2 separate regions of the Homo sapiens genome follow, and region 1 is linked to region 2. Evidence: promoter capture Hi-C in 16 types of primary human blood cells and fetal thymus (Javierre and others, 2016). All regions are on one chromosome and are shown on one strand. The core of a region is centred on a gene start or on the middle of the fragment in contact, and the rest is flanking DNA. Distances in the headings are between cores, read along the strand shown. Region 1 overlaps LOC105373999 (a long non-coding RNA gene). Region 2 holds the start of OR5AC2 (olfactory receptor family 5 subfamily AC member 2).

Evidence for each region. The method cuts DNA at HindIII sites, captures the fragments that hold promoters and counts their contacts. A CHiCAGO score of 5 or more calls a contact.
Region 1: a fragment that was not itself captured here is called in contact with the fragment with the promoter of OR5AC2 in region 2 in 1 of 17 cell types (endothelial precursors); the score reaches 5.8 in endothelial precursors.

Annotation. Positions count from the first base shown.
Region 1 is chr3:98,298,388-98,303,673 of GRCh38, forward strand. All of the region lies in intron 1 of LOC105373999 (a long non-coding RNA gene), which reads right to left. Among named protein-coding and RNA genes, the nearest start is that of OR5H2, 19 kb to the left of the region's middle. The HindIII fragment of the contact is 1,525 bases long and covers 838-2,362 here.
Region 2 is chr3:98,083,577-98,088,469 of GRCh38, forward strand. OR5AC2 (olfactory receptor family 5 subfamily AC member 2) reads left to right here and starts at 3,597. Exons shown (of 1, transcript NM_054106.1): 1 at 3,597-4,526. The coding sequence starts at 3,597. The coding sequence ends at 4,526. The HindIII fragment of the contact is 8,836 bases long and covers 1-4,893 here.

The DNA.
Region 1 (5,286 bases), core at 350-2,849, 210 kb after region 2:
AGGTATTGGCCTTAAGGAGTAGATAAAAAGAGAGATGGGGTAGAAAGTTTATTCAAAGGGATAATAACAGAGAACTTCTCAAACCTACAGAAAGATATCAATATCCAAGTACAAGAAGGTTATAGAACACCAAATATATTTAACCTAAAGAAGCCTACCTAAAGACATTTAGCAATCAAACTCCCTAAGGTCAAAAATAAAGAAAGAATTCTAAAAGCAGCAAGAGAAAATTAAAAAAAATAACATACAATGGAGCTCCGATATGTCTTGCAAAAGACTTTTCAGTAGAAACCTTACAGGCCAGGAGAGAGTGGCATGACATACTTGAAGTGCTGAAGAAAAAAACTTTTATCTTAGAATAATACAAACAGTGAAGATATCCTTCAAACATGAAGGAGAAATAACGATTTTCCCAGACAAACAAAAGTTGAGGGAGTTCACCAACATCAGACCTGTCCTATAATAAATGCTAAAGGGAGTTCTTCAATCTGACGGAAAAGAACATTAATGAGCAATAAGAAATAATGTGAAGATGCAAGACTCACTGGTAATAGTAAGTACACAGAGAAACAGAACAACACTGTAATTGTGGCATATAAATTACCCACATCTTGAATAGAAAGACTAAATATGAAGTGATCAATAATCAAAACTACAACTTTTCAAGCATAGACAGTACAATAAGATACAGATAGAAACAATAAAAAATTGAAAAGTGGGGAGATAAAGTTAAAGTGAATTGTATTTGTTTATCTTTGTTGATTTGTTTGTTTGCCTATGCAATCAGTGTTAATTTATCATTAGTTTAAAGTAATGGGTTATAAGATAGTATTGGCAAGCTTCATGGCAATCTCAAATCACAAAACCTTCACCAGATACACAAAAAAATAAAAATCAAGAAATTAAAACATGCCACCAAAGAAAAATCACCTTCACTAAATGGAAAACAAGAAGGAAGAAAAGAAGAGAAGACAGAATACCACCAAAAAAACCAGAAAACAAATAACAAAATGGCAAGAGTAAGACCTTACTGATGAACAATAACATGGAATATAAATAGACTAAACTCTCCAATCAAAAGATATATAGTGGCTGAATAGATTTTTTTAAAAAGACCCAATGATTTGTTGCATACAGGAAACACACCTCACCTATAAAGACACACATAGATTGAAAATAATGGGATGGAAAAAGATGTTGCATGCAAATGGAAACAAAAAAAAAGGAGGAATAGCTATACTTATATCAGACAACATAGATTTTAAGGCAAAAAGTATAAAAGGGCACTAAGAAGGTTATGTGATTATAAAGAGGTCAACTCAGCAATAAGATATAATTATTGTAAATATATATGCAGTCAACACTAGAGCACCCAGATATATAAAGCAAATATTACTAGAGCTGAAGAGAGATAGACCCCAATACAATAATAGCTGGAGACTTCAACATCCCACTTTCAGCATTGGACAGGTCTTTCAGACACAAAATCAACAAAGAAACATTAAATGTGATTTGCCCTATAGACCAAATGGACCTAATAGATATTTGCAGAACATTTCATCCAACAGTTGCAGAATACACATTATTCTCCTATGCACATAGATCGCTCTCAAGGATAGACTATATGTTATGGCACAAAACAAGTCTCAAAGAATTAAAAAAAAAAGAAATATCAAGTATCATCTCTTAACATAATGGAATAAAATTAGAAGTCAATAACAAGAGGAACTCTGGAAACTATGCAAGCACATAGAAATTAAACAATATGTACCTGAATGACCAGTAAGTCAATGAAGAAAACTGAAAATTTTCTTGAAACAAACAAAAATGAAAATGCAACATATACCAAAACCTATAGGATGCAGCAAAATTGGTACTAAGAAAGTTTATAGCCATAAGTGTCTACATACAAAAACATAGATAAACTTCAAATAAACAACAGAACAATGCATCCTAAAGAATTAGAAAAGCAAGAGCAAACCAAATCCAAAATTAGTAGAAGGAAATAAACAATAAAAATTAGAGCAGAAATAAATGAAAAAGAAAAAAGGAAAACAATACAAAAATCAAGGAAATGAGAAGTTGGTTTTATAGAAGGATAAACAAAATTGACAAACCATTAGCCAGACTACCTAAGAAAAAAAGACGAAAACCCAAATAAATAAAATCAGAGATAAAAAAGGAGACATTACAATTGATACCACAGAAACGCAAATGATTATTAGGGACTACTATGAGTAACCATATGTAAATAAATTTGAAAATGTAGAAGAAATGGATAAAATCCTAGATGCCACCTCCCCAGATTGAACCATGCAGAAATCCAAAACCTGATCAGACCAATAACAAGTAAGGAGACTGAAGCTTTAATAAGAAGTCTCCAAACAAGGAAAAACCCGTCAGATAAATTTAACAAACAGACTGAAATAATTTAAAAGAATCAGGCAGAAATTCTGGAGCTGAAAGATGCAATTGAAATAATAAAGATTACGTCAGAATCTCTTAATAGCAGAACTGATCGAGCATAAGAAAGTATTAGTGAGCTTGAAGATGGGATATTTGAAAACATACAGTCAATTGGCTTCATTGCTGAATTTTACCAAATATCTAAAGAATAACTTAACATCAATCCTCCTAAAACTATCCCAAAAAATAGAGCTGGGAGGAATACTCATTCTACAAGGCCAGTATTACTTTGCTACCAAAGACATATCAAAAAAAGACTACAGGCCAATATTCCTGATGAGCATTCATGCAAAAATCCACAAAATAGTAGCAAGCCAAATTCAACATCACATTAAAAAAATCATTCATCATGACCAAGTTGGATTTATCCCAGGGATGTAAGGATGGTTTGGCATATGCATATCAATCAGTGTGATACATCATATCAACAGAATAAAAGACAAAACCCATATGATCATTTGAATTGATGCAGAAAAAACATTTGATAAAATTCAATACCCCTTTATGATAAAAACCCTCAAAAAACTGGATATAGAAGAAACATATCTCAACATAATAAAAGCCATAGATGAAAGACCCACAGCTATTATCATACTAAATGGGGAATAATAAAAGCCTTTTTTCTAATATCTGGAAAATGACAGGGATGTCCACTTTTACCACTTTTAGTCAACATGGTACTAGAAGTCTAGCTAGAGCAATCAGACAAGAGAAAGAAATAAAGGGTATCCAAATTGGAAAGGAAGAAGTCAAATTATTCTTGTTTGCAGATGATATGATCTTATATTTGGATGAACCTAAAGACTCTGCCAAAAAACTATGAGAACTCATCAACAAATTCAATAAAGTTGCAGGATACAAAATCAACATACAAAAAATCAGTAGCATTTCTATATACCAACAGTGAACAATCTGAAAAAAAATAAAAAATTAATTCCATTTACAATAGCCACACATAAAATTTTATACCTAGGAATTAACTTCACCAAAAAAGTGAAAGATCTCTGTAATGAAAACTATAAAACACTGATGAAAGAAATTGAAGATGACACCAAAAAATGGAAATATATTCCATGTTCATGGGTTGGAAGAATCAATATTGTTAAAATTGTCTATACTACCTAAAGCAAACTACAGATTCAATGCAATGCCTATCAAAATAGCAATGACATTCTTCACAGGAATAGAAAAAATCAATCCTAACATTTGAATGGAACTAAAAAAGACTCAGAATATACAAAGCTATCCTGAGCAAAAAAGAACAAAACTGGAAGAATCACAGTAACTGACTTCAAATTATACTACAGAGCTATAATAACCAAAACAGCATGGTACTAGCATAAAAATACTCACATAGACCAATGGAACAGAATAGAGAACCCAGAAACAAATTCATACATCTATGTACAATGAGCTCATTTTCAAAAAAGGTGCCAAACACATACATTGAGGAAAGGATAGTCTCTTCAATAAATGGTGCTGGGAAAACTGGATATTCATATGCAGAAATTGAAACTAGACCTCTGTCTCTCACCATATACAAAAGTCAAAATGGACTGAAGACTGAACTAGAATACCTGAAACTATGAAACTACTACAAGAAAACAATGGGCAGCACATTGGACTGGGCAAAGAGTTCTTGAGTAATACCCCAAAAGCAGAGGCAATCAAAGCAAAAATGGATAAACAGAATCATATCAAGTTAGGAAGCTTCTGCACAGCAAACAATCAAAAAAGTGAAGAGACAACCCACAGAATGGGAGAAAATATTTGCAAACTACCCATCTGACAAAGTATTAATTATCAGAATACATAAGAAACCCAAACAACTAATAGGAAAAAAATCTAATAACCTGATTAAAAATCGGCAAAAGATATGATAGACATTTCTCAAAAGAAGACATACAAATCACTAACAGGTATATGAAAAGATGGTCAATATCAATGATCGTCAGAGAAATACAAATCAAAACTACAAGGAGATAACATCTTACTCCAGTTAAAATGGCTTATATCCAAATGATAGGCAATGAGAAATGCTGGTTAGTGTGTGTAGAAAAGGAAACTGCCATATACTGTTATTGGGAATGTAAATTAATACAAGCAGTGTGAGATAGCTTGGAGGTTCCTCAAGAAAATAAAAATAGAACTACCATATGACCCAGCAATCCCACTGCTAGGTATATAGCCAAAAAAAAAAAAAAAAAAAAAAAGGAAAGAAAGAAAAGAAAAGCAGTATATAGAAGAGATATCTGCACTCCCATGTTTATTGCAGCACTATTCACAATAGTCAAGATTTGCAACCTAAGTGTCCATTGACAGATGAATGGATAAAGCAAATGTGCTACATATACACAAAGGAGTACTATTCAGCCATTAAAAAGTATGCTCCTTTCATTTGCAACAACATGTATAAAACTGGAGGTCTTTATGTTAAGTAAAATAAGTCAGGCACAGAAAGACAAACTTTGCATGTTCTCACTTATTTGTGGGAGCTAAAAATTAAAACGTTGAACTCATGGAGATAGAGTAGAAGAATGTCTACCAGAGGTTGGTGAGGATAGTAGGCAGGAAGGAGTGGTTATGGTTAATGGGTACAAAAATATAGTTAAGTAGAATGAATAAGATGTAGTATTTGATAGCACAACATTGTGACTGCAGTCAACAATAACTTATTGTACATTTAAAAATAACAGAGTATAATCGGATTGTTTGTAACACAAAGAAAGAATAAATGCTTGAGGCAATTGAAAACCCATTTACCCTGATCTGATTATTATGAATTGTATGCCTCTGTTAAAATATCTCATGTACCCAACA
Region 2 (4,893 bases), core at 2,347-4,846:
GAAATTACTGGTTAAATTCAGTGTGTAAGTAACAACTATCTCATTTCTGCTTTTTCTGTGCTACTTTAGAAAATGTATCACTTTCCAATTTCCCAGTGTTTTTGTGGGAACTGGATGAGAGTATAGTGATTTCTGCAATTTCTATTATTTATCGTTTTGCAATTTGTCTTTAGGTGATAATGAGGTATCTATGCAAGAAATTAAAATTTCAGTGAGGCATTGAGATTTTCTCAATCAACCATCAAAACCTAGACAGATGGGACAGGATGTCTTTCTGTAGAGAAGACAAATTTCTCACAAAGTTTCATAAATAATATAGTTTAATAGAAGAAGGAAGTAAATGGGAAAACATTATAATAAAAATGATAACACAGCTTTGAAATTTATTTTATCATATAGAGAGTTTAGAGCTGAGATACAAGATATGCAGATTGTTATCTACATGATTTGTGGTTTTGCAGAATGTAAATAATTGTAGCCTTTGAGTTAGTGGCTGTCTATAATACCTAGATTTTTAAATATCATGGAATCATGAGATTAAAAGCTAAAGTCAATAAATACAGCTAGCATTGTCTCCTTTACTCCAACTTGAAGGTATTTCTTTCATCTTACTCTTAAGGAAAAAATTCCCAAACCTTACTACTTCTTGGCTTCATTATACTGAATTCATGAAATGAGACTAGAAATATCTATTATTTGGTGACTTGGATTGCAAAGAAAGTGAAGCCATTTTATTTAGGACAAAATCTCCACTTTGGGGAGAAAATTATATTTCCTTAATATAACCTATTTTCAGCAAATATACTCCAGTGAAACTGTTAGGTTTGGTGTATTATAACAGGGATCCTTATGGGTGTTTAGTTTTTTAAACTTATGGATCCTTTTGTTCAGCTTAGTGAAGATGGAGAATAACAACTTATCATTGTTCCTACTGTTTAAATAAACTAAATTCTTCTGATTCATTCTGGTATTACATTTCTATTTATTATAAATATGGCTATGAAATTATGAAATTGTTTTCTTCAATGAATGTTATAATTTATTTAAACTCAATTTTTGTGTTAAATATATCTTTGTTTCTCTTTCAAGGAACAAAGGAGATTATATGGTCATTTCAAAATATTTGGGAAATTCTACTCTGGGTATTTTTTCAGAGATAGTTTATAACCAAGTCATAGAAGAAAATCAATCTTATTACTTCATGAAAATATCAGATACTATATTCATAATAGCAATAGAACCTATGAAGCCCTTATGAGTAAAATTTAATAAGAAAAGTGTTGAAAGTGTATGAAAAAACTATGAAAACAACTATACGTGGATCTATCTTACATAATTTCCAGATATTTTTGACTATTTCAAAAAATCATTCCTGCTCTCAATAGTTGTCTATTACCAAATATTTAAATGCAAATTATCATGAAACATAAAAGATCATTAATAGATATTTTCTAAGAAAAATTTACAGGTTATTTATTACTAATTTTACATTAGAACTATCAATGCCAAATATTCCTTACTAAAGGTAAAAATAGCATTTTATTATTCTTATTTCTATTAACATGCAGGTAATCATCATTTTGTACACATTTACCCCAAAACATTTGGGAAGCTCTACGCTGGAAATTCTTTCAAAGATAGTTTATAAGTTATAGAAAAAAATTAATCTTTATCTATGTTCATATCATATTTATATTTATACGCAAAAAATTAAAAATATAAATGGAACTATGTAATTTACATTTCTTTCTATTTTGATTTTTTTACTTAATAATGCATTGAGAAAATGCTCCGATTTTTAACAGGTACAGCTCAAATCCATTTTCTTTATATCTGAAGACTATTCCACAGTCAGACTGTACCATAATTTATTCAGTCATTCTATAATTGATGAGTATTCTTTTTGTTTCCTGGCTTTGTCTTCATGAACAATGCTTTATTAGGTATCCTTGTGTTTCACGTTTGTATCTGGGTGACAATATTTCTAGAATATATATCCAGAAGTGAGATTGTTAGATCAAAGATATATAAATTACTAATTTTGATAGATGTCAGCTTTGAAAGGCAGTTAAAATTTATGTCAGTTATTTTAGATTGCAACTCTTTTTCACCTTTCTATCATCAGTAGATATTATTTCTCATTTTACTTTTTTGTTTATTTGACAAATGAAAACGATGCGACAATTTAAAAAATATCCTTAATTATTAAGGAGGTTGAACATTGTTTCATATATTTATCGGTTTTTTTTTACATATTTATTAATCATGGTAAACATATCTGTTCATATTTTTCACTCATTTTTTTCATTAGGTTGTCTACTTGTTCCTGCCAAGTTGTAAGAGAGTATATGTGTTGTGGGCCGGGCGCGGTGGCTCACGCCTGTAATCCTAGCACTTTGGGAGGCCGAGGCGGACGGATCATGAGGTCAGGAGATCGAGACCACGGTGAAACCCCGTCTCTACTAAAAATACAAAAAGTTAGCCGGGCGTAGTGGCGGGCGCCTGTAGTCCCAGCTACTCGGGAGGCTGAGGCAGGAGAATGGCGTGAACCCGGGAGGCGGAGCTTGCAGTGAGCCGAGATGGCGCCCCTGCACTCCAGCCTGGGTGACAGAGCGAGACTCCGTCTCAAAAAAAAAAAAAAAAAAAAAAGAGAATATATGTGTTGTGTATATATTTTTATAAGTATTAATGCAAATTATGTTACAGATATTTTTCCAACATGTTTTGTCCTTTCCCATTTTTTATGAATTCTTTTGTCATGCCATAAAAATTAGGTAGCTATGCCTATATTCAATGATTAGCCTAATTCTCTTTCTCATGCAATGGTTTTGGATTTGCATCTTTTTCCATTGCAATGGTCTTCCACATGGTTTTATTGCCTCTGGAGGGTGGTAGAATATGCCACACCAAAATATGCCACTTTGGCAGATGGATTATTTTGAGCTAAAGGTACATAAAGAAACAGCAGATGGAAGAAGGGCATTCTAATTTCACCTCTTCTTCCTCAAAACAAGTGGTTAAAAACTCCCATGTAAAAGATGCCCTCCCTGTACCAGAAGAAATGAAACATTATTTTCATTTTTTAATGAATTCTATCCAAGAGAATTCTATACAAACAACGCTTGTTAAAATAATTCTAATCTTCCTTTTACCTCCCTGCATAATTTAGCTGCTTTTCCACAATTGCTTTTCTTTGTTCAACCTAGTATGAAAGCCTTTAGGTTTTGCCACATGTTCAGGTCTTCATTTACTTATGAGGACTTTTATGTTATGTAAAACTTTTATACATTTGTATGCTTTTCTCTTCTGAATCTGGCTTATGTCCATCTGATTCTCAGGCCAACTAAGAGAGTAGAGGCAAAATTTTGCCTCCCCTACACCTCAAATATATGCATTCATTTCAGTATTTTCCAATTTTAGTGTCAAATACCTAAACACACACTTTGTAAACAGATTTTACTAATGGATGTAAGTTAGACTTTAAAAACTGTTAATTAAATGGGAAACTCAAAGGTATAAATATAATAAAATGCTACCGCTTTGTGTTATCTTTAGTGATTGTCTTTGTAACATGTTTTCTTATTACAGTGACGAGTATGGATATATCAGAGGGAAATAAGACTCTTGTGACAGAGTTTGTTCTCACAGGACTTACAGATCGACCATGGCTGCACGTCCTCTTCTTTGTTGTGTTTTTGGTGGTCTATCTCATCACCATGGTGGGCAACCTTGGACTGATAGTTCTAATTTGGAACGACCCCCATCTTCATATGCCCATGTACTTATTCCTTGGTGGTTTAGCCTTTTCAGATGCTTGTACTTCAACCTCTATAACCCCTAGGATGCTGGTCAATTTCTTAGACAAGACTGCAATGATATCCCTAGCTGAGTGCATCACCCAGTTTTACTTTTTTGCTTCCAGTGCAACTACAGAATGCTTCCTCCTGGTGATGATGGCCTATGACCGCTATGTAGCCATATGTAATCCCTTGCTTTATCCAGTGATGATGTCCAACAAACTCAGCGCTCAGTTGCTAAGTATTTCATATGTAATTGGTTTCCTGCATCCTCTGGTTCATGTGAGTTTACTATTGCGACTAACTTTCTGCAGGTTTAACATAATACATTATTTCTACTGTGAAATTTTACAACTGTTCAAAATTTCATGCAATGGTCCATCTATTAACGCACTAATGATATTTATTTTTGGTGCTTTTATACAAATACCCACTTTAATGACTATCATAATCTCTTATACTCGTGTGCTCTTTGATATTCTGAAAAAAAAGTCTGAAAAGGGCAGAAGCAAAGCCTTCTCCACATGCGGCGCCCATCTGCTTTCTGTCTCATTGTACTACGGAACTCTGATCTTCATGTATGTGCGTCCTGCATCTGGCTTAGCTGAAGACCAAGACAAAGTGTATTCTCTGTTTTACACGATTATAATTCCCCTGCTAAACCCATTTATTTACAGCTTGAGAAATAAAAAAGTCATGCATGCATTGAGAAGAGTTATAAGGAAGTAAACAGTTCCAAAGGGAAATGTCAAATCATTTATTTTTTCACCCTTTGCATAAATAAGTCAACAAGTCTTGTGGTTAGCCATGGCTCTGCCATTTCATCAGAGGGCTAGTGGTCAGGGTGGTCACTGAGCACTACGTGAAGAAACCCAGCTTTGTACAATGTTTACTTGGATTTGGGTCCAGTTGAAGTGTCTTTACATCAACCATGGTTGATTTCTTTAAAAACATTTTACTTCCTTGTTTTCTGAACATTTAATCTTGAAAATTTATTATTTTCCAGGGACCCTACATCTAAATTCCATTGAATAACCGACAATAATTGAAACTGTTATATAAGAGCCATTTAGTTCACAAACCTAGTTTACTGCAC